Regions from separate parts of the Homo sapiens genome. Here regions 1, 3 and 4 are each linked to region 2. The links are contacts of gene promoters, found by promoter capture Hi-C in blood cells and fetal thymus (Javierre and others, 2016). All regions are on one chromosome and are shown on one strand. Each heading gives the region's core, a stretch centred on a gene start or on the middle of the fragment in contact. The rest is flanking DNA. Distances are from core to core; before and after follow the strand shown. Region 1 holds the start of NIPAL3 (NIPA like domain containing 3). Region 2 holds the start of IL22RA1 (interleukin 22 receptor subunit alpha 1). Region 3 overlaps RCAN3 (RCAN family member 3). Region 4 overlaps NCMAP (non-compact myelin associated protein).

What was found. The method cuts DNA at HindIII sites, captures the fragments that hold promoters and counts their contacts. A CHiCAGO score of 5 or more calls a contact.
Region 1: a fragment that was not itself captured here is called in contact with the fragment with the promoter of IL22RA1 in region 2 in 1 of 17 cell types (M0 macrophages); the score reaches 5.4 in M0 macrophages.
Region 3: a fragment that was not itself captured here is called in contact with the fragment with the promoter of IL22RA1 in region 2 in 2 of 17 cell types (M1 macrophages and endothelial precursors); the score reaches 5.3 in M1 macrophages.
Region 4: a fragment that was not itself captured here is called in contact with the fragment with the promoter of IL22RA1 in region 2 in 1 of 17 cell types (total B cells); the score reaches 6.2 in total B cells.

The regions. Positions count from the first base shown.
Region 1 is chr1:24,412,936-24,419,023 of GRCh38, reverse strand. NIPAL3 (NIPA like domain containing 3) reads right to left here and starts at 3,222. Exons shown (of 12, transcript NM_020448.5): 1 at 3,120-3,222. It overlaps STPG1 (sperm tail PG-rich repeat containing 1), which reads left to right and starts at 5,242. Exons shown (of 9, transcript NM_001199013.2): 1 at 5,242-5,350. RefSeq lists enhancers at 1-440, 5,627-5,746. The HindIII fragment of the contact is 499 bases long and covers 3,384-3,882 here.
Region 2 is chr1:24,140,569-24,146,165 of GRCh38, reverse strand. IL22RA1 (interleukin 22 receptor subunit alpha 1) reads left to right here and starts at 3,026. Exons shown (of 7, transcript NM_021258.4): 1 at 3,026-3,126. The coding sequence starts at 3,084. The HindIII fragment of the contact is 5,016 bases long and covers 1-3,559 here.
Region 3 is chr1:24,534,873-24,541,209 of GRCh38, reverse strand. It overlaps RCAN3 (RCAN family member 3), which reads right to left. Exons shown (of 5, transcript NM_013441.4): 5 at 170-6,117. The coding sequence ends at 5,933. NCMAP-DT (NCMAP divergent transcript) reads left to right here. Exons shown (of 3, transcript NR_109781.1): 3 at 1,334-1,936. Among named protein-coding and RNA genes, the nearest start is that of NCMAP-DT, 18 kb to the left of the region's middle. RefSeq lists enhancers at 1-151, 4,662-4,751, 4,578-5,227, 5,228-5,879, 5,854-5,913. The HindIII fragment of the contact is 1,001 bases long and covers 2,874-3,874 here.
Region 4 is chr1:24,587,308-24,593,730 of GRCh38, reverse strand. All of the region lies in intron 1 of NCMAP (non-compact myelin associated protein), which reads right to left. Among named protein-coding and RNA genes, the nearest start is that of NCMAP, 34 kb to the right of the region's middle. The HindIII fragment of the contact is 8,325 bases long and covers 1-6,423 here.

The sequences.
Region 1 (6,088 bases), core at 2,384-4,883, 270 kb before region 2:
CTTCCTCCCATCGCACCCTAACTTAAATCCTCCCTTTTTCCATAGCTCTTGAGCACAAGAAGTAGAATACTAACTTCTCCAGGTCTCAAAAAAAAAAAAAAAACAATTCCACTACCACGAAAAGGGAACTATTTAAGTTTCAGCTTAGGAAGAAAAGAATCAGAAGAAAAGCTACATCCATGGAAAACAGAAGAACTGGCCTGCTACCGAGGATTGGCCTGACACAGGTGAGGTGACACTGGTCTCGGAGGTGGAAAACCTGTGTGACCAGGTAACTCTGCCTCTCAGAGATTCAGTTGCCTCCTCTGTAAAGTGGGGGTAATAATGTGGCCTCAAATAAACCCAGCAATGATGAGAATCCCTACTAATTTCATCGGACTTATATTTTCAGTGCTTCCCGAACTTTTCCTTTTTTTGGAGACAGAATCTCACTCTGTCATCCAAGCTGGAGTGCAGTGGCACAAACATGGCCTCAAGCTGGGCTCAAGCAATCCTCCCTCAGCCTCCCAAGTAGCTGGGACCTCAGACGCGTGCCACAAGGCCTGGCTAATTTTTTTGTAGAGACAGGGTTTCGCCATGTTATCAGGCTGGTCTTGAACTCTTAGGCTCAAGCAGTCCACTTGCCTCAGCCTCCCAAAGTGCTAGGATTACAGGTGTGTGCCACTTCTCAAAATTTGCTACCAAACAGAGAAGAGAAAGTATACTTCTAGTGTCCTAGGAGGCATGGCCAAAACCCTGCTTAAAAGTGTTAGGGTTTTCTTTGAGGACTTTTTATACATTTTTTAGAAATGTATTCTACTGCATAGTCTATGTTTATTTTAATAGAAAAATGTTTTAAATTGCTTTTGATGTGCCATGTGCTACCTGTTTTACCTTTGCCAGGTCATTTAACTTTTCAGCCAGTTTCTCCAGCTGTGAAATATAGATAATAATGTTCCCACTCCACATGGCAGTCATGAGAATTTGATGAAATCATACATGTAAAATGCAGGCATAGCAAATGGTCCATGAATGTGAGCTGCTGTTAAGATTAATTTTATTCTCTCCTGTTTAATTATTTATTTTGTCCATTCCTTTCTCTCTCATGCATTCATCCAACAAATATTTACTGAGGGCTCACTGTGAGCTAAACAATTTCTGCCACTCCCTGAGGCTTCAGAGAGCTGCCTCCTGTGTATCCTGTAGCTTCCAGTTCCTTCTGCTATCCGGCCCTAGGCCCAGGAATTCTGGTTCATGGTGTGGACAGCACATACATATGTGATAAGGGGAACACCATGTCCAGTCCTGGGATACAACAAATGCAGGTTTAGCATAGGGACAGCTACAGAAACCATTTGGCTTGGTTTCACTTTGTCAGAGGGCCTCAGGATGAAATTATTGCTACTACCTGCAGACGAGGTTATATATCCAATATACAGACATGAGATGTAAGCATTCACCGGGTAACTTTATCAGGTAATTCACATCCCATAGCTAGACTTCCCTGCCTGTAAAACCCTATGAATATGTGTTTGCAATCTTGTGGAAAGCATAATTGTTCACTATACTTTCACGTACATGTGAAAAGCATTATTGTGTTACATTTCTGTAAAAATGTTTTAGCATTTGTAATAATCATAAGAGCCTTAAGAGTGGCTCAGGGTTCTTTCTACCTCTGAGAGGCCCCGGGAAGCATTCAACCATGAAGCAGTCATGGAGTTGAGGAGCGCAAACTCCAGTGAGGTGTTTGCGGAATACCCTGTTCAGTTGCTCCCAGCTGAGATCTAGCCCAGAGCCTGACAGTGACTTCTATACATACCAACCAACTGACTAAATGAGATCTAGCCCAGAGCCTGACAGTGACTTGTATACATACCAACCGACTGACTAAATGCAGGCTGGTTAAGCACTGGGTGCACTGTGGCCCCTTCGCAGTCAAGAATGCCTTTCTAAGGCCTAATCAACCACAACTCCAGAGCTTCAACAAGCAGATATACTCAGCCCCACCCACAGGAGGTCAGAGAAAGCCAACAGACCTTAGCGACATGTCAATCAAGGGAGTGGTGGGAACCCAGGCCTCCTAACATCCTTCAGAGTAGTTTGCCCAAGTGCTTTTCTGGTTTTGCTTTTGTTTGTGGTGGTTGGCATTGCTGTGGTTTAATTTTTCTTTTAAAAAGCAGCTTCCCTCTCTGCCTCAGGAACTCGCAGGCCTCTGAAGCATCGCCTGCAAAGATTGAAGGCTCTCCCTCAGCTGGGTGGGAGTCCGGACTGAAAGCCTGGAGGAACCCTTTGCAAGCTGTACTCCCTTATAAGACACATACTTTTCACCTGGTGACTCTCTTTTCCTGATTTCGAAGCATTTCTTCAGGACCTACATATGCCCGAGAGGCAAGCAGTCACCTCTGCGTTGTCAACCACCCCACAATTAGAGCACGTGGTCACTGACCCAAGGAAGGAATGAGAATTCACTAGGTGCTCTGCTTCCATTCCCACCCCGTTTATCTCGATGACGGATTTCACCAATCCCACAGAGCACGTTTTACAAATGAGACAGCCGTGGCTCATAGCGTCTGTATTCGAATTTGCCTCTTTCTGAACAAATCAATAAAACACGCTCTTTCCCACCACCCGACGATCTGGCTTCTGGAGGTGAGCGCCAGTTCCCTGCCAAGCTTCCCGTTCCTCGGCTTTGGCTCACGAGAAGGTTACATTCTTCCGTCCCGTCCCACTGAGCTGGAAACTTACAACTCGAGGAGACAGCACCTCTGTTCCAGAAGCGGGCTTAGACCAAGAACGCCTCCCCTCATCCCACCTGCTAACTCCACCATCTGCTGCCGCCAGGAAGCCCGAGCCGCTCGGCACGAAGAGGAGAAATTCTGGCAAAGTTAACTCCATGTCACTTCCTGGTTTGGTAGAGCCTGGCATCACCTTTAGTAAGGTAGCCCATGCCCCCGCTCCTCTTGGCCTCGATGCAAAACTGGAAAGAACATTCCAAGGCAACGGGACCCAGGTTGGCGAGGCTGGTGACAGTAAGAAGGAAGGGTATGTACACTAGGGGACGTTAGGTGACTTCGCTTTTTCCAGAAAAAAACGAAGGTTAAATTCAATTCCCCTTCCTCCCGGTGTTAATCACTACTCACCGGCGGCGTCTCCTCTAAGGCCCACCTATCAAAACCTTCTGAGAAATGACTCGGACTCTTCGTGCAACCCGGAGGCACAGCCTCCTTCATCCCTTCCCAATTCAGAGCTGCCAAGATGCTGCAGTGTTTTGCTTTCAAAGGTCGCGATTTGATTTGCCAGACTGCCTGCCAGTCAGAAGTTGGCAGGCATTTCGCGCAGGCAAGTGGCTGCGAGGACGGGGAGTAGGCGGGACAGCCCCTGGCAATTGGCTGCGCTGCAAAGCTTGCTTGAAGCATAAGGGAGCGACCTGGGGCTAGAGCTTGGCGCTCACCTGGAGCGGGGACCCCCTAGCGGCCACAGGAAGAATGGTGCGGCGACTCCCCTGCCCCCTCTCCCGCTGTCCCAGAGAGCTTAGGTGGTTGCTCGCCTCCACCTGCCCGGCAGGTGGGCCTGGTTTTAGCAGCCTGCCAGGTGTCCTCCCTTCTTATCCTCATAGCCACCTTCCGGGCTTTGCTCCTGCTGTTCCCCTACCCGACGCTCTCACCAAGTATTCAAATCCAAAACGTCCTTGAAGACCCAGCGCTCCCCAGAGCCCTCGCGAGACTTGGGACCAAACATATCTCTCCTTTCCTGCCCTCCTGGAACACCTGTCGGATACCAAGCCTCCCAGCAATACTGAAGGTCCTGAAACGAGCCCAGCGCTTGGTTAATGTTTCTATAATGTACATAATTATCACGGCCATGATAATTAACATGCGCATGGAGTTTTACAGATGACAAGCTTCTCATCGCTCACACGTTGTCATATACACGCATTTGCTTTCAGATCGTCACAGCCATGAGTGAGACTTGAAGCCCGTTTTACGTATGAAGAAATGTCATTTGGGCCTAGACATCAACAATGAGAAAGAGGCAGTTCTAGTCTCAGATCGTGGGGCAGAGAAAGCTCCTTGGGAACATGGGAGAGGAACGAGTTGGTGCATTGTAGAAACTGCCCGAAGGCCAGCAGGGCTGGTGAGAGATTTTTCTGGGGGCGTGGTTGGGCCTGCGATCTGAGGGACGGGCCAGGGACAGTTTATAAATAACATATTTGGGGGCCGGCGCGGTGGCTCACACCTGTAATCTCAGGACTTTGGGAGGCCAGGAGGATCACTTAAGCCCAGGAGTTTGAGACCAGCCTGGACAATATAGTGGGACCCCATCTCTACAAAAAAATTTAAAAATTAGCCGGGCGTGGTGGCGAGCGCCCGTGGTCCCAGCTACTCAGGAGGCTGAGGCGGGAGGATCGCTTGAACTCGGGAGGCGGAGGTTGCAGCGAGTCGAGATCGCGCCACTGCACTCCAGCTGGGCGACAGAGCAAGACCCTGTCAAAAAAAAAAAAAAAAAAAAAAAAGCTTGGATTTCACCCTAAATTTAAAGGCGAGCCATTGGAGGACTTTAAGCAGGGGAGTGACAAGGTCGCTGAGACCGCCCTGCCCTGAAGCGTGTGAAGAGGGGCTCCTGGAATACTAAGTGGCTGCCCTTGTATAGTCGCCCATGTCAATTTTTTTTTTTTTCTTCTGTTAGAAACAGGGCTTGGGGCCGGGCGTGGTGGCTCACGCCTGTAATCCCAACACTTTGGGAGGCCGAGGCGGGTGGATCACCTGAGGTCAGGAGTTCGAGACCAGCCTGGCCAACGTGGTGAAACCCTGTCTCTACTAAAAATACAAAAAGAATAGCCTGGCGTGGTGGCGAGCGCCGGTAATCCCAGCTACTCAGGAGGCTGAAGCAGGAGCATCGCTTGAACCTGGAGGGCGGAGGTTGCAGTGAGCCAAGATTGCGCCACTGCACTACAGCCTGCTCGACAAAGCGAGACTCTGTCTCAAAAAAAAAAGAAACAGGGCTTGGATGAATGTTAATTCTTTTAGGTATATTCCTTGAAGCAGGATTTTTGAGTGAGCAAAATTCTGAGGCTTTTGGTTTATCACAAGATTTTTGAAGCATGGCCTAGATAAACCTCTTATTAGTTCCCCACCCCGCTACAGGCCCTGATGTAATTAACCTAAGCCCTAAAATTCGGCCGGCTTCTCTGCGGACTTTGAAACGCCTCTAATGATTGGTCAACAACTTTTCACGTTAAAGAAACAGAGGATGCCATTGGCTGGAGTTACCTCGCGGACGGCGGAAGGTGGACTCGCGAATGTTAGGCCTGTGGGTGCCATAGCGACCGGGAGGTTGGGCTGGCCAGATTCAGCTGCCGGGACCGGACCAGGTAGGAAGCAGTTCCGGCGGGGGGACCGGTCCCTGAGGTCGTGGGGAAGAGGACACGGCGCACCATGTCCTCCGCATGGGACGCCCGCGGAGACCCCCCGGCCTCCGGGTGCTTGCGGAATTCCAGGGCTGAGCTAGGTGGAGCCCCGAGGGCGGGAAGAAGCCACCATGGGAGTTGCCCCTGCGTCGGGGCGTGTCCTCGGTGTTTCCACCCGAAAAGTGGTGACAACTGGGGCTTGCCTGCTCCACCGAGCTCCTGCCAGGGGCGTGGGCGTCCGACCCTTCTGGCTCAGGCTCCGCGAGTGCGCAAAAGTTGGGAGGCTTCAGTGCCTGGCAGTGGGTGGACGCCAAAGACCTGATCTCTACTCATAGGTTCACCCCAGCTCAGGGGGTGTCCCCCAGCAAACGACTTCCCTGCTCTGGGCCTCGATTTACCCATCTGTAAAATAAAAGGGTGAGATTGGAACCTGGTGGTCACTAGCCCGCCGCTAAATTTCCTTCCAGCTCCCTGATACACTTTCTCAGCCTATGAAGACTATCGAATGGGTTATTTACCTGAGAGTGCTTTGAAAAAATGTAAGCTGCTTCCAAGATGCTTATAACTGAGTAGATAAAAATCGCCTACAGACGAAACTACTCAGGACATCCAAAAAAATTCTATCTAAAGTAACAGTATACATAGTTTAGTACATGTTTATATACCCTGTACAGTAACATGTATAATGTAAACTGTAATACT
Region 2 (5,597 bases), core at 1,777-4,276:
GGCTCACCGCAGCCTTGATCTCCTGGGCTCAAGCAATTCCCTGCCTCAGGCTCCCAAGTAGCTGGGACTACAGGCATGTGCCACCACACCTGGCTAATTTTTTATTATTTATAGAGACAGTGTCTCACTATGTTGCCCAGGCTGGCTTTAAACTCCTGGACTCAAGCGATACTCCCTCCTTGGCCTTCCAAAATGCCGGGATTACAGGCATGAGCCACGGTGCCTGGCCTCTGGAAGGACTTTCAAAGTGAGATGTTATGGGCTGGAGTTATCAAGAAGGGCCATATCGCAGAAGAAAACTGTCTTGGTGAGATTCGAGGAAAAGGGAATTGGCTAAGGGAGTGGAAATGGCATTCCAGGAGGAGGATAGAGCCCCAACAAAGGCTTGTCTTTAATGCCGATTTGTTATGTTTAGTAACCTTGCTTTCCCTTAATATAAATTAGTGTATTTCCTATATTAACTTTAGGAAATGCAGATAAGCAAAGGGAAGAAAAGAAAAATCACCTACAATTCCACTACCACCCAGAGATAACGCCCCTAGTGTTTTCATCTATATCCATGAAGACACGCAGTTTGCTCTGCGTGTGCAGGTGTGCGTTTTAGCCAGGGTGGTACTGTACATAGGTTATGTTATGCCTCTTTTCACTTGAAAAAATATGATGAGTCTTTACCAGGTCACGAAACATTTTTCTCCAGCATTATTTTGGAAGCTGCATTTGTCTTGCTTTGGGTGGACATACCATTATTCTTTTAACCAAACCTCTATTGTCAGACATGGAGGTTGTTTTCATTTTTTTCTCCTTTTTTTTTTTTTTTTTTTTTTTTTTGAGACGGAGTCTCGCTCTGTCGCCCAGGCAGGAGTGCAATGGTGCGGTCTCGGTTCACTGCAACTTCCACATCCTGGGCTCAAGCAATTCTCCTGCTTCAGCCTCCCGAGCAGCTGGGATTACAGGTGCCCGCCACCATGTCCGGCTAATTTTTGTATTTTTAGTAGAGACAGGGTTTCGCCATGCTGCCCAGGCTGGTCTCGAACTCCTGATCTCAGGTGATCTGCCCACCTTGGCCTCCCAAAGTGCGAGATTACAGGCATGAGCCACCACGCCCCACCTATTTTTTTCTTAAACTGTTAGAAATGAAGTCTGGGTGTTCCCACATTCCTTAGCAATCCAGGTGTCTTCCTTCCCGTTAATTCCTACATAACCACAGGCCCTCGAAACTACAGGATGCCCTTTTCCTCCATCAAGTTCCTTCTTCCAGTGCTTCTGAGAGGCCCCAAGGAACACTTTCGTGTTCCACAGACCTGTTGGGGCTGCGTCTTGTCCTCTCGGCCAGCCACTTGGGACCAAAGCCTGCTCTTCTCCCTAAGCGTCCCTTGTAACCTGTTTTTCTCGCTGTAGCTTCCCCACACTGCCTTGTCATCAAAGTCATCAAAAACCCTCTATCCATCATGGTTCATTCAGTAGCACAGAAACCTCTCCAGTCTTTCAGACCAAGGGACTTTAATGTAAAGGAGCTCGTCACCCAGAGGATGAAGGAGCTGGGACACTAATCAGGACAGACAGTTCAGAGATTTCCCCAAAGCAGGAAGCTGTGCCATCCCACCAACTGAAAGGAAAGATGAGGGGAGAAGGTGTTGCCAGAGCCAGGAGCTGGCCTCCAAACAGGAACAAGAAAGACATAAGGGGTTGCCTGGCTGATGGACTGTCCAGAGGGAGCCAGAACTGCAGAGGGATATGGCCATTGCTGGGGAAGCCACTCAAACAGAAAACGAGGGGAGAAATGCTCTGATCTCTGCCTCCCCAGTCTTCCCCCAGGGGCTAAACCTATCAGAAAGCAGTTGATAAAGGAGTCTAGAAAATGTAGTTTCCTGCAGTTTCAGGAAATGACTGGCATGGGCCCTACCTTAATTCCTCCAAAGCACAGCTTAGATTTGGCTGTTTTGTCAAACAAACTTTAGCAATCAGGGCTGATAACAATTACAATTCAGGAAAGAAAAACTTAAACACCGATCTCAGCATATCACAGCCCATTACACCCAACCCGTTGGCAGGATCCCTGCTAAAATTTCGCTTGCCTTTGTGTGCTTGGGGCCAGGCAAACTCTCCCCAGGGGCAGGACCCTCCAATCGTGTCCACCCTGACCAGAGTCCAGGCCCCAGGGCCCTTCTACCTTCTCCAGGCCCTGCAGGAAGGAGAAAACCATTTCCTAAACACCTGTCCCTTCATTCACACGAAGCTCATGTGCAGATCCTGCCCTACGTGGCAAAATGATGGGAGAGCAGCCTGAATCTTCATCGTCCCGAACCAAAGCCCCATTCATGAAGTTCAGCCCCATCTCTAGCACAGCAGAAAGAATCACTGAAGTTTGAGTTCCATTTTTTTTCTAAACTTTTGCAGATCCTAGACCCAAAGGCTCAAGGTAAGAGCGGCTGGGCTTCCTCACCCCCAACGGCCTCTCTAGGGGAGAGCTGTTCCCAAGCCCACCCCAAGCGTGGGGACCTGCCTTGATATGGAGGATCAAGGAGGAGCATCGGGTGCCCTCAATCTCCTCCTGCCAGAAAAGCAAAGGAGTCACAGCTTTTCCTTTGCTGCAAGAAACATTCTGGGACCTTTTTTTTCCCCCTCTGTTGTCCAGTTATTTTCATCAGGGTAAATCCCCTAGGAATAGAATTATTAAAGCAAAAGATATGTATGTGGTGTAGGCTTTTGATCCACAGTGCCAAATTGCTTTTTGATAAGGCTGCATATCGTGGATTATTCTTGCCTTTTCTGCCCCTCAGCTCCTTGATAAACCACTTGGGATGAATCAGCCACCGGACCAGATAAACAAGCCAGCCTGTTACTATTGCTGTTTTCTGCAAGTCGGAAGGGAACTCCCTTAGATCCCGCCCAGAACCTGGAATTCCAGAGCACACAGGGCCAGGACACCTTTGTACCCCTGCTCCCCACCGGCACAGGTCCCACCCACCCCCTTCTCCCCGCCCCATGCCCGGGTGGAGCCAGCTGCCAGGGCGCCAAGACTCCCAGCCCTCTCTCTGTGCACGGCAGAGTAGAGGCCAAGGGAGGGCTCTGTGCCAGCCCCGATGAGGACGCTGCTGACCATCTTGACTGTGGGATCCCTGGCTGGTGAGTGCCCATCTACCCTGTGGTCAGACCTCCCTTATCCCAGGGGCCAACGATCAGGGTCATCTCCCCAGCACCCTCCCCAGCCCGAGCATAGCCAGTTTCAGTTTCTCCCCTGCTAGGGCTGAGCAGGGTGCCGGGTGTTCACGGAGAAGCAAATGCCCAGCTTAGTTTGCTGGGGGCATGAGAGGGTGCCTCAGACCCTGGGTTCTTCCAGGGACCCAAAGGACCCTCGGGTCTTGAGGGATATAGCCAGCTGTCTGAACTGGGGGTGCTGGATCGCTGCACCTCAGTGAATGGAGAATTGGCCTGGAGGAGGCAGACATCCTTCGGTCCCTCAAACGGTGTCGGCACAGTTTGTACCATCCTTCCTCTGCCTCTCACTTGGCACTGGCCTGACAGGGGAGGAGGAGGAAGGACCGGGGGAAACGAAGCTTGAGTTCACTATTGCCTCCCTCCATGCCCCTGCAGGGCCTCTTTGGCCCCTTTTGTTATCATAGATCTGAAAGAGCATTTTCTCCTAGAGTGGCCAGGTCTGCTACATTAATAGGTCTTAAGACACAGGACTCATTTGGAAACAGGTCTTAAGGGCATAGTGTTCAAAGCCAATAAAGTGAGCGGAGTGGGGGGCTCATCATTATGGAGAACGTTACATGAGACCCTAGACTCTCTCTCTGCTCTCCTGGTGCATTGCATGAAATTCAGGGAACTTCCTTAGGAAGTCAAAGCATAGTCCTGATTGAGGATGGCGAGCAGGTATGGCCTCGGCCAGGCCCTCCTTGCTCAAGTGCAGGACGAGGCCCACGAAAAGGCAGAGCTTCCCACCTTCTCTGCCACTGTCCCGCCAGGGCTGCCTGCGTCTCCAGGGCTTCCAGCTCTGTGGGACCCCCTCCAGTCTGCTTCCCAGCATCAAGCTGGGCGTTCCAGGAAGATGTGAGGCACCCCCTTGAGGCACCAAGACACGTCCCTTTAGACCCTCAGCCATACTGGTTAGAAATCCTAGAGGCTCCCAGCCCTTTGAGATGGGGGACCCCAAGAAATAGCCCTTAGGAGATTGTCAAGGGTCAGCTGCCTCGCGCTGCACACACCGGGCCCTCACCCCCCCAATCTTAGGCTGACTCCAGAGCATGTGGAATTGTTTCTTGTTTGTGTATTTTTCCTTAGCTTCCCAGCTGGTTGACAGAACATTGTTTTTCCACATGAATGTGAAAAAACAAGTTGCCTTTTATAAATCCGCCAGGCTGCCAGGCTCCACACAACACATGTCTCCCCAGATTTCACAATATAGACTTTCACCCGGGAAGTGCCGAAGCAACACAGGCTGAGGAATGGATGATAGATTTGAGGAGGAAAAGGAGCGAGGAGGGTGGGAGAAGAGGGGGAGATCTTGTTAGACCCTGACATCCCTAAAAGACAGGAGTGGGCCTAGGTTCACTTACCCCACTTCAGGAAGCTAACTGCAGTTCCCTCCTGAAAAGTGGTGCCAACCTCCACGTAGCCCAGGGTCCTTTGCCTTGGCAACATGCCCCCACCTCAGCCACCAGCCTCCTTGCAACCCAGATGGGCCCTCTATTTCCCACCCAGAACACTGACCTCAACCAGCAACCGTTCCCGCTGCAGACTCTACCCCAAGCCTTGATGGAGCCTGGCTTCTCAAAGCCCACCCTCACCCTTCTGCCCTGACCCACCACCCAACCAGAAGCCACTGTTCAGGTCTGACCTTGACTGGACTCCTTTCCTCAACTTTAGACTCAGCCCTGAATCCAGGACCCCTCCCTCCAGAACTGACCCCAATTCCACCCAGCCTCACATCCAAACAAGATGTCAGCTACATCCTAAGGCTCCACGGCACAGCCGTCACCTTGCGTAGAGGCAGTAGACCCCTCCCCGCGCCATCCCTAAGGCCCCATTCTGGGGACTCCAGGAAGCCTGAAGACATTTTGCAGCTGCTGGGCCAGAACCCAAATTCAGAGAGGAGGGCAGCCTTCGAGGTTGGCCAGAGGATGTGCAGCGGGGTCGGACCATTCTTCCGTCCCCATCGGTCCTCGCCAAGCCTGAGGACCCCTCTTGTGTGTAGAGTTGGAGTAGGGGAATCAATAACTGTCTGCTCCCTCACACCTTGGGCCCACTGGCAGTCGTAGACGTGTCTGGGGAAGGAGAGGCACAGACATATTCAAGACACACACCCAGGCCGCAAGGCCTTGACCCAGCTGGGGTTGCTTAACATTTTCCCACCTGTTTATTTCCCACGCCAGCCGGCCAGGGCCTCCGAGCTCCGAGCCAGCTGCCAGCTTGGGCCGCCATTTTCCCGCAGGCTCTTGCTCTCCACAGCCCAAGCCTGGGGGCCTGAGGGAAGGGTTTTATAAGTTAAGGACTCTTTGTTTACAGTGCAGATTGCTTTAGAGGCTGCAGCCCCTCCCCAGCCCCTTCCTTGAGGCTCAGGCCCTCACTGCCCTTCCCTTAACAGAAGCAGA
Region 3 (6,337 bases), core at 2,125-4,624, 390 kb before region 2:
AGAGTGAGCAGTGACTCACCACCTTGAACTCTGGCACTGCACGGCATTAATGTTCAACAGGACTCTTGTGAAAGGAACAAACACAATATTGCACTTCTCTGTCTTATTAGCTAAATGTAAGTGATGCGTATTGAAAATACTACACACAAAAAAACTCAACTCAATGGACTGATTTAAAAATAGTTACTAACTTTATTTGTATTCGTTTTAAAAACAGAACTTGTTACAGGTAATCACGAAGCTTCCAAAAAAAAATTACATTCTGCTTTTGTCATCTTGATAGGACAAGGAATGTTTAGATGTCCTTAAAACACAGGGTAAAGTTGACAAATAACAAACTACTACAAACTATGGATTGTCACTTCAAGCACACTAAAATGTGGAATACATGTACATAAATTACTGACCAGTTTTTTGCAATACAAAGAGTATGCACTACAGCTTATATACCATAAAGGTAACATGCCCCAAAATATAACAGAAGATCACAAACACGTTCGGAGAAAATAATAACTTTGACTCTTGGGTTCAATTAAGATTGAAGTGAAATGATTGGGAAAGTTTTCTGAAACTTGAAGGGCACGCACATTATAGCAGAACCGTCAATCAACAATCACGTGGGGTTGAAAAGCAGCAAGAAGAATATGGCACGGTAACAGGGGTAACCACCTTTCTCTCTCCTCAGTCCCCAATTTGAGTTAGGAAGATTGAGGACTAAACAGAAAACAGTATTTAAAAACATGTATTATCTGCATAGATAGAAATCTTCCATTACGATGAGAGTGAACATTCGGTCAAAGCTATGCAGGAGTGCCAAGAGTCTGCAGGATATGATTCTGTTTCAAAAGGAAATATATAGGTTTACATCCAGACAGACCACATAACGAATTTAGTGAAAGATCTTTACGCTGTTATTTAAGTGGGTAGAGACGCTGACTCAGCCCCAGGTTAGTTCTTGACCTTGGCTAAAAACTCTACTTTGAACGTGATGATTTTTATAATCTTTGTCAGTGAACCCAGCAGTTGTTGCTTTCAGTTGTCTTATGGATTGTACATTTGGTAATAAGAAAACAGTCTCCAAATGATTAACATTTTCCCCTGATTCACAATGAAACAACGGCATTCTGACGAAGATGATCCATACACCGAGGGGAGTTTAAAAGACAAATAAGTATTCAGCGAATTGTAGGACAAGGTTCATAAATCTTTTAAAACTTTTTAAATAGTGAGTTTCTGTAACATGGACTTACAGCTCCAGCTAGGAAGCAACTATTGCCCCATCTTTTGTTCCTTTATATTGTCACCCCAATTATAAATAATTTGTTTCTTTTAGTACAGGAAGATATAAATGCAAATGTGCAAAAAAAGGAAGAAGGAAAGATGGACCAAGTTCACCTGTTTGGTACGTACAGGGTCCACAGCTCTGCAGAAAGGGGAGAAACCTGGTAGACAGAGGGCCTGACGCACCATAGCATTGAGCACATTTTCCACTGCTTAATTATGTGTGAGATTTTCCCTTTTAAAATAAATCTATGGTCTGTGAAATAGTCTGTATAAAAATATGAAGCCTTGAATAGGCCAGTCATAGCAGTTCCGTCTTGAATAGAACTCAATTTTACAAGCACGGAGTGAGAGTATCATTCCACTGCAAACTCTTTTATTTCCACAACATATTAGATCTCATTCTGCTTTAGTAGAGTTACCTCTTAAGTACGACTATTAGTCATTTCATTAATATGAAAATCTGGGAAGGCCCACATAAAATACCAACATAATTGCTGGCTACCAAGATAAAATTATTTAGGCAGATTCCAGCCCCAATGGTTCAATGATAACAAAACTACAAAACATGGGACATCAAATTCATTAATAAAATTATTAAGTCACCTCTTCCATCGAATGATGAGATTTTTCTTATTCACTGTTTCCCATCAGGGAAAAAAGAATCCTCCCACCTCATGCCTTTTTTTTTTTCTGATGCCAGGAATTAGTATTCATTGCCTCTTTAAGAGGCCAATGCAAAAAAAGGTAGAAAAAGCCCTAGCCCAGGAGTTGGGATTGCCAGTTGTAGTCCCTGGGTTGCCTTGCTGGGGGTGCCTAAGTCAGTGCCATAACCTCAGTTTTTCTAATCTGTGTAACATGGGGATAGAGTATATGATTTCCAAGGTCACTTTCACCTCTGTGATTGAGCCTCTAAGAAAGCCAAATCTTTTCACTTTGTAATCATGACATTTTTAAAAGATGGAGTTAATATGAATGGGAAACTTTTTTTTTTTTGAGCCAGGGACTTGCTATGTTGCCCAGGCTGGTCTTGAACTCCTGAACTCAAGTGATCCTCTCACCTCAGCCTCTCAAATAGCTGAGACTACAGGCACACACCACTGCACCTGGCTAAAGACTATATTCTTAAAGAATAAAAGTACTGCACTTCACCTCTATCTCCTGGTATCTCTTCAATTCAAACACACCATTAATGACTACAATATTTTATTTAAGGCCGGGCGCAGTGGCTCACGCCTGGTTAATCCCAGCACTTTGGGAGGCCAAGGCAGGCGGATCACTAGGTCAGGAGATCGAGACCATCCTGGCTAACGTGGTGAAACCCCGTCTCTACTTATAAAAAAAAAAAAAAAAAAAATTAGCCGGGCGTGGGAGCGGGCGCCTGTAGTCCCAGCTACTTGGGAGGCTGAGGCAGGAGAATGGCGTGAACCCGGGAGGCGGAGCTTGCAGTGAGCCGAGATCACGCGGCTGCGCTCCAGCCTGGGCGACAGAGTGAGACTCTGTCTCAAAATAAATAAATAAATAAATAAAAATAAAAAATAAAAAATATTTTATTTAAACCTTTATGTTGAACTTAAAAGTTCCTTGAAGCTTTGCTTTGGCTCTTAATTACTGGTATGTTTTTGAGTACAACATTTTGAAGAAGCAGAATGTGAAAAGACTAATTTGCTTTCCAGCTGAGTTTTAGTTCTCGAAGGCAATGGAACTGTTGCTATCCACTTCTGCCTCTTAGTACCTTAAACCTCAGAGATGCTCACTGGAACACTTTTTACATGGATTTGTCTTTGGTTTCATCAGGTGAGTGTGCTACAAAAATCTAGAACCTAAGAGCCAATGCAGCGTCGGTTCTGTGACTATCCTTGTTAAGTGTTACGGTTTTCTAATCCTTCACAAATGTTTTTTTCCCAACACAAAGCACCATTATCTTTCCTCACAATTTTCAACATAGTTTGATTCCCATGAAGAGGTTATGATTTCTAAAGAAAACATGGCTACTATACTATCAATCAGGGTTAAATCTTTTTTTTTTGAGACGGAGTTTCGCTCTTGTTGCCGAGGCTGGAGTGCGATGGCGTGATCTCGGCTCACCGCAACCTCCGTCTCCCGGTTCAGGAAATTCTCCTGCCTCAGCCTCCCAAGTAGCTGGGATTACAGGCATGTGCCACCATGCCAGGCTAATTTTGTATTTTTTAAGTAGAGACAGGATTTCACCATGTTGGTCAGGCTGGTCTTGAACTCCTGACCTCAGGTGGATCCACCCACCTTGGCCTCCCAAAGTGCTGGGATTATGGTGTGAGCCACCACACCTGGTCCTATCAGGGTTAAATCCAAGTAATAACTCAATTTCAAAAAAATTGCAGAAAAGCCTATTAAAAGAAAAAAAAAACCATGAGACTTATCTCTTGTAAATTTGTTACATGAACTAGATATTAAACAGCCAAAAAAGGACAGCGATGATAGTATCTGTTAAGATCCTGGTTCATTTCACAATATGAAAAAGTTGATGGGTACTTAGTAGCTTTTTTAAAAAAATTCATTTTATTATATTATACTAGAAAAATGAAAATATTAATACTTTCCATTCAGAAAAGCTTAAATGACTCGTCTCTAATTTTGGTTTAAAGTTTTCTTCAATTTATTCAAGGCTCTCAAAAAAAAAATAGAAAAGCACTGTAATTTGCACTGCTTGACTGTAAAATGTTTTATGTGTTAGGAATAGAATATTCTTTAATGGGCAGGCAGAGAATGAAAGCCAAGCCAAATAACAAAATCTCATGGGTTTTGATCACTTAGAAAATTACAGTGAATCAATATTACCTAAAAGGAAATTCAAAAAATTCCCAATTGTTGATAATACATGTCTCCTGGCATACAGGGTCCATCTTGCAGTAAAAAATGGGCACAATGCTGAGTTCAGAACTGCAGAGTAAATTTATTGGGTGGTTGTCGGTTAAAATGACAAATGATGATCTGAATTCAATACATTAAATTGCTGATAGAATTGCAAATTTCAACTGAATTTACATTGAGGCCTAGCAGTGGTAGTTGGCTACAACTGGAACAGTTTATCACCTCAGGGTATTTGAGGGCAAGGAAGATACAGAAAAAAAAAAAATTAGGGGTATGCAACACAGTTTAAGTGCTCAGAAATAAATTTTACCACAGTGAGAACGAAACCACAATGACATGTTACTAACACTGTGCAGACGTCATGGTTGAATGCCTGCGTTCTGTTCCTTCCTGGTGGCAGCCGCCTTGGTTCATTAGTTCTCATGTTTGCAGCTCCTTCACATGCCCCGGAGCTTCCCAAGTGTGCCACTCAAAGGAAACAGCACAGTGAGTGGAGGCCAGCAGACCCACCCGGCCCAAAACAGAGCCTTCTCAGTTATGAGACTTTTCTACAGAAGGGACTTCAAAGTCTAAACAGACCAGAGAGAGTTAAAAAGATCCTGCTGCTTCTTAGGGAAGTTCAAAGGTACATTCTGACACCTAAGTGGGAAACAATTCTGTTTTAGGAAAAGTGCCAACTGCAATCCGGGTACAAAATTTCAACAAAAAGAAAAGTAAAACTGAATGATCTCCCCCTCATTCCCTAATTCATAGAAAAATAGTAGGTGTGACTTTTGTTTCAAAGCAAGCTGAAAAATGGTTAAATGGACAATTTACAAATGGTCTTCAGAAAACCTTATCATTACCTTTTCTAGTTGAAAGTCCATGAATGACATACATAAACGTACACATCATAGCCAAAAAACTCAAGAACTAGTGGTTAACAAGATACTGGAAAAGGTGAAGGATAAAAACTGGTGAATGAAGGTAGCTGGGTGGTCTACAGGCTAGAACACGGTCACGAACGGCAGAATGCAGTAGCCACCTGCGATCCTAATCATTCAAGCTTACTGGTGATACGTCCCACTTCTAAAGTGGCCGTCCTTCCTGGGCAGCCATGTCTGGAGGGCGCCACATCAGGAATGAGGGCCTGTGCATTGCTTTGTCCCAAATTCCAGATAAGAGCAACATGTGGGTGGATCTGTGTCGTAAGACTCATCCTCAAAGTGGATTTGGCATTTCTTCCCCAAAGCTAATTGAACAAATACTTGAGAACCATGATTTCTATGAATTATTCTGTATTTCTGGTTTCTTTTCCTGCAAAAAATTTCATGTATACTGAGTAACAACCTTTGATCGATTTATTAATTAGAAGCTATTTATACCAGTAGAAAAATACCCACAAACAATTAAAATTATAAGACTATTTTTAAATTCATAAAAATGGTACTGTACTGGGTGTGACTACATTTCCAGTTTTTGGTGTCTCATGTGATACAGAATCAGGAGGACTTACATGGCTGGAGGGGAGGGGAGCTGTTTTCCTAATTTGTTACTATTTAAAAATGGTTAAGGGTGGCCACATCTTGGGGGCTTCTCCTTTAATGTAAAGTCCCTTTTGGAATATCACTTAAAATCTGGGACAGGTCAAATCAGCTGCTACTCTACACGACCGTGTCTGCAGTACAGGCGTGGTGAGAAGACCTATACCTCACTCGGCAGAGTCTCACCTATGCTGTTCGCAGCAACGCATCGGCCGCAGGCACAGAGCGCCATGGCCAGAGCCCACCAGGGCAGCCGCCTCGCACCACAACCAAGGGCCTCACAGCGCGCAATCAAAGGTCTGGGGCTCATTCAACGCTGCGGTCGGAGGGTCGGGGCGCCTCGTCTGGGCAATTTTCTGTTTGGGGTTTTTTGTCTCTTCTTCCTCTTCAGTTTCACTTTCACAGACATGAACCACCACGCTGGGTGTCGACTCTGTTCCCGCGTGAAGTTCATATTTCTCTCCTGCAGAGGCAAACAAAATAACCATGACAAAAGCATCACTTCCAGCAAAAAGAACTCTTTTGTCCCTTGCAACTTTTTGTTCTACTCCTATTTTAATGGGTGATTCTTGTTCTTTAAATCTTTAAATACTATGTTAGAGTATTTTATCTTGTTTTGGTGTTAAAGATTTGATACTTTAAGGCTTGTATAAAATGTTGTTTCAGTACTGAAGTCTTGGGAG
Region 4 (6,423 bases), core at 2,834-5,333, 450 kb before region 2:
TTGCCTAGGCTTGTTTGTAATCTTAAGAAGCCATAGGCCTCAACACAGCCATCTACTGGAGAAAGAGAGATTCTGGACATTTTAAAAAATGGTGTATAAATTTATTTTCTTTTTAAAAGTAAGAAATGTTTTTTAAATTATGAAGACAAATATTACAGGAGCCCACGTACTGACCATTCACATTTAGCAAATGTTTACAGTCATGTTTTCTTCAGTTTTTCTATTTATTTATTTATTTGAGATGGAGTCTCACTCTGTTGCCCCAGCTGGAGTGCAGTGATGTAATCATAGCTCACTGCAGCCTCAACCTCCCAGGCTCAAGTAATCCTCCCACTTCAGCCTCCTGAATAGCTGGGACTACAGGCATTCACCACCATGCCTGGCTAATTAAAAAAACTCTTTTTTTTTTATAGAGGCTAGATGTCATTATGTTGCCCAGACTGGTCTCAAACTCCTGGACTCAAAGCGATCCTCCCACCTTGGTCTCCCAAAGTGCTGGGATTACAAGCATGATCCCCTATGCCCAGCCCAGTTCTTTTTTTTTTTTTCTTTTGAGGTAGAGTCTTACTCTGTCACCCAGGCTGGAGTGCAGTGGCACAATCTCGGCTCACTGCAACCTCTGTCTCCTGGGTTCAAGTGATTCTCCTGCCTCAGCCTCCCACGTAGCTGGGATTACAAGGGCCCACGACCACATCCAGATATTTTGTATTTTTAGTAGTATGGGGTTTCACCACGTTGGCCAAGGCTAGTCTCAAACTCCTGACCTCAAGTGATCCACCAGCCTCAGCTTCCCAAAGTGCTGGGATTACAGGCGTGAGCCACCTTGCTCTGTTGCCCAGGCTGGAGTGCAGTGGCATGATCACGGCTCACTGCAAGCTCCGCCTCCCGGGTTCACGCCATTCTCCTGCCTCAGCCTCACGAGTAGCTGGGACTACAGGCGCCCGCCACCACTCCCGGCTAATTTTTTTGTATTTTTAATAGAGACGGGGTTTCACTGTGTTAGCCAAGATGGTCTCGATCTCCTGACCTCATGATCCACCTGCCTTGGCCTCCCAAAATGCTGGGATTACAGGTGTGAGCCACTGCGCCTGGTCCCAGTTCTTCTTTATAAGAAAAAAAATCAGACATAGCTGAAATCCCTTTTGTATTCTATCTCAATCCTATTTCCTCTCTTCCCCAAAGTAACCACTCCCTTGACCATTAGTGTGTATTCTTATCAAAGTTTTAAAATGTTTACTACATAACATATATATTATATATATCCATAAACATTGTATATATTGTGGCTGTACATATCTATGAAACACATCTATTAAATATCAACGTGGCACCTACTAAGTGACTGATGCTGGGCTCAGTGCTGGGAGTACACAGGGAATACTAGACGAACTCCTTGCCTTGGGAAGCTCATGTTCTAGTGAGCACGACAGACTATAGGTTTGATCATATGATTCTGGGGCTCAAAAAACAATCATTTCCCCCTGTCGACACTGCAATATCCAGTAGTGAAAGCCCTTCACTCGCTGGTTCTACCCTCTGTTTCCAGCGTCTCAGCTACTCACACCACCCTCTGCCAAACTGCTGTGACAGCAGGGCACTCCCTCTTCCCCCATCATATTTGGTCTTTGCTGCCTCTGGGCTGGCTGCCCCAGGCATTGGCCTCCCCAGTCCCTGCCCAAGGTCTCTCCAGAGAGTCCTTATCTATGGGCTGCGGCTTTCCTGCTCTCCCAGCTCTGATGGAAGCAGGGGTCAGCACCCACCTTGAAACACACCCACTAGGGTCAGGCCATCTGCATTCCAGCTCAGGGCTCTGGTGGCAGTGGCCTGCCCCGGGGGCTTCACAGGGTCAGAATGGCCTCTGTGGCCTGGCCCTGTTAATCTATAAGGTGGGCTCTGCCTCTCCCTTCTCTGTGCTCCCTTAATCCGGGGCCCTGCCTAACCCTCCCTAGCTCTTGTCTACCCCTCCTTCCAAAGACCAGACCCTCCGGACTCCCAGACTCAAGCTCCCACCAGGAACCCCGTGTGGCTCTGCCTGACCTCCCCACTCCTGCCACTCTGTCTCCCTGCCTGGGCTTCCTGTCTCCCAACACCTGAAACAGGCCCAGGCTAGCCATGCCCTATTGCTCCCCAAGAAAAAGAGCGTAGCCTTCAAGACACGGCCCAGGCCAGGCACGGTGACTCATGCCTGTAATCCCAGCACTTTGGGAGGCTGAGGTGGGCAGATTACTTGAGGTCAGAAGTTTGAGGCCACCCTGGCCAACATGGTGAAACCACATCTCTACTAAAAATACAAAAACTAGCCGCTTGTGGTGGTGCACGCCTATAGTCCCAGCTACTTGGGAGGCTGAGGCAGAAGAATCGCTTAAACCTCCAGGAGGTGGAGGTTGTAGTGAGCCAAGATTGCGCCACTGCACTCCAGCCTGGGTGACAGAGTGAGAGTCCATCTCAAAAAAAAGACACAGCCCAGTCCCCAGTCGCCCCCCAAGGAAGACTCCTACTCATACTGAAATAGAGATTCTGTCCCCTACCCTCCCACAGCAGCTCCCTGCAAAGAAACATCACCAAGGCATGTGTCCACTGCTTTGTCTGCCATTAATGCTACATTTCATTGTCAGGTCCTTGAGGATGGAGACTATTTCTTGTTCTTTCTCATATCCTTTTACCTTCCTCAGATAAAGTGTCTGGGTCTTCTCTCCTTCGCCGTGCAAGGGCTGGAATGAGTAACTGAATTTCTCCCAGCTTCATTTGCTCATCTGTAAAACGAACTGCCTCTCCCTTTCCCTAAGGGAGCTGAGAGTGAGAAGTGGGGTATGGAAAGTGTTTTTCAGTGTTCACTAAATGGCAGCTCTAAGTATTATAGTGAATATTAGTAAATATTTGCTGAACTAACTTAGAGACAGGGAAATCTGGAGCTGAAAACTAGGAGACATTCTTTCTATAAAAATAAGCACAAATTAGCCAGCCTGGTGGTGGTGTGTGCCTGTAGTCCCCACTACTTGGGAGGCTGAGGAAGGAGGATCACTTGAGCCCAGGAGTTTGATGGCACAAACTACAGTGAGCCATGATGGCACCATTGCATTCCAGCTTGGGTGACAGAGCAAGACCTTGTCTCTAAAACTAAATAAATATAATAAAATTTTAAAAGCACAGACAAGTATGAGAATTTGGAATGAAAGCCTTTCCCACCCAGCACTGCCCACCTCTACTCTCAAGGGGAGATGCCGGCCCTGCCTCAGTACGTGAAGGGTATTAGCATGCATTTCCCTAAACCTTCTCCTTCTAGCCTCACCAACATCAAGCTAAGAAGACTCACCAGTGAGGCTTTCATACAATTCCTTTTAAATACAGAAAAGAGATACAAATAGGTGGCTGCGGATCAAGGTTTGCTTAGTGAGAGAGACATGGAACAATCATTGGCCAACCCAAACCCATGGACATATTCACCGTGATACCAACACGCACAAAAATGACAGAAGCCACCATTTGAGTGTTTGCCGTGTGCCAAGACCTTGTGACAGATATTTTCTATCCATGCCCTGATTCAACTAGCAAAATGCCATGTAAGATAAGTTTTCCTTTCCCCTTCTCTCAAATGAAGACCCTGAGACTTGATAATATAAAGCCAACTCTCAGCCGGGTGCAGTGGCTCACACCTGTAATCCCAGCACTTTGGGAGGCCAAGGCGGGTGGATCACTTGAAGTCAGGAGTTTGACACCAGCCTGGCCAACATGGAAAATTAGCCAGGTGTGATGGCAGTTGCCTGTAATCCCAGCTACTCTTGAGGGAGGCTGAGGCAGGAGAATTGCTTGAACCCGGGAGGCAGAGGTTGCAGTGAGCTGAGATCTCACCATTGCGCTCCAGCCTGGGTGACAGAACAAGACTCTGTCTCAAAATAAAAATAAAAATAAAAACATAAAGCTAACTATCCACACTTACGTAGCCCCAAAGCTACAGAGCTGGTTTGTGAACCTGGGTGTTGCATGTGGCAACGTCTGCATCCTTCCTACCACACCACCCTGTCCCTGACACACACTGGTGGGGTCTATGACCAGTCACTGCAGGAATACATGGAGGCACACACATGCACACACATACACACACTGACCAGTAATGCAGCCACCTAAGGCCACCAGGACACAGGCTCCTCTACAGGTCCTGCAGGGGTGACCTCCTGGGTGCCGAGTTCCAGGTGCAGACTGTCTTTTGGATGGGCCCAGTAGCTCTTCTCTCTCAGAGAACAGTGAGGAATCTCAGAGCATATCTTGCCTCATCTCGGGACTGAGGGCTCTCAATTGCATCTCTGTCCCTGCTGCATCAGAGAAGGTGGGAGGGAGGGTGGTAGCACAGCCATGGCCAAGCATGTGGGTGTTTTCATGTGTGGGGCCCCAGCAACAGTTGTTAACCAAGTGAGGGCCAGCAGGAGCACTTCAGTATCAAACGTCCCTAAGACCAGGGGCCATGACCATAGAAAACACAAAGAGGACAGGGAGAGGGAGGCCAGTCTTCACTGACAGAGGTTAATTTAATAATAATAATAATGCGCTATGTGTCCGGCACCGCACTCGGTGCTTTATGTTGGAGATCTCACTTAATCTTCATACCAGTCCTGTAAGGAGGGCACAGGCACTTTGTCCATTCTGAAGATGAGGAATCTGAGGCTTGGAGCAGAGAAGAAACTGCCTTAACTTCACAAGGCTAATATGAAAACTATGCCAACCATGCCAGGATTCAAACCAGGGTCTATCCGATTTCACAGCCCCTTCTTCAAAAACCCTCCCAGCAAATCCACAAAGCACAGGTGGCCCAGCATCCAGGGCCCAAATCAATGTGGGGCTTTGATGAAAAAACCCACACAGGCCAGGGTTCAGCAGACAGACGAGGGCCCTTGCCCCAGGCCTATGACCCTGACCCTGACTCCTACCCAACTACTCCTGCCCTTGGCCACACTCTGAGCCTCTGTGTTCAGCAGAGCCTCGATCACATTTACAGAATCTACAAGGGACTGTTGTTTTCTTGGGTTGTTTACAAAGGCCTGTGTGGGAGGCGAGTTTGGGAAGTGATGGCAGGTCATAACCATTTATTCACGGATCCATCCTTCTCTGACTAGCTCTTGGCCAAGTCTAAGAGCTGAATGTGGAAGATAAACGCTGTCAGACTCCCACCTGTCCAAAATATCTCCCCTGAAGCTCTGCCCTAGGGGTACCCCCTCTCCCTCTGGCCTGGCTTACAAGTTCCTCCCTGGATAAGACAATAGAGAGACTACCAACCCCGGCAGACCTCTCCTCAATTGACCACCTGTAACTCAGAGCAGGTAACCCACGAAAGCCCTCGACCCACCAAAACATTGGGATTGATTTCTCCCAATCTCCTGAGGGATGGGAGATTCAGCAGGACTTGATCTCCTCCACAGACAAGTGGCTCACTACTCCCAAGCAGCTCCTGGAGATATTGGGATGTTTTAATGGTCAGAAAATTGACCCTAAGGCCAGGTGTGGTGATGTGAACCTGTAATGATAGCTACTCGGGAGGCTGAGGTGGGAGATTCGCTTGAGCCCAGGAGTTTGAGGCTGCAGTGAGCCATGATCAAGCCACTGCACTTCAGCCTGGGTGACAGAGCAAGATACCATCTCAAAAAATTAAAAGGAAAAGAAAATTGAGTCTTTTCCTCTCAGAAGTCCCATCTTTCTCACTAAAGACAGAGCTGTTTTCCTTTCTGTTTCTTTCTCTTTCTTTTGCCTATTAAACCTCCGCTCCTAAACTCCTAAAAAAAAATAAAAGAAAAAATAAAAGAAAAAGAAAATTGACCTTCATATTGGCATCTTGTAATTTTTACTTATTGGTGCAAATTATCTCTCCACAAAGGTAAATCTGCTACCTCTTCTAAGTGAAAACCTGTCAGGATTAAGAGCACTTTTCTGGTGGGGAGTGGTGGCTTATGCCTATAATCCCAGCATTTTGGGAGGCCGAGGTGGGTGTATTGCTTGAGCCCAGGAGTTCGAGACCAGCCTGGACAACATGGTGAAACCTCTTCTCTACAAAAATACAAAAATTAGCCGGGCATATTGGTGTGCACCTGTAGTCTTAGCTACTTGGGAGGCTGAGGCTGGAGGATTGCTTGAGCCTGGGAGGCAGAGGCTGCAGTGAGCCAAGATCATGCCACCACGCTCCAGCCTGGGTGACAGAGTGAGTCCCTGTAAAAAAAAGAAAAGAAAAGAAAAGAAGGCACCTTTGACCTTTGTGCATGAAAGGTTCAATTCAAACTTTCACCGATGGAACAGAGCAGTTGGGGTAGCTGGTATCACCACATCAATGTTACCTCCCACCAATAGGTGGCGATAGTAGTTGTCTGTAGGTTGGTAACCATCCTGCGAAGCCAATCTGTTTTTAAGCAGAGGAGCTTTCTGCCCTTCAAAACACCAATT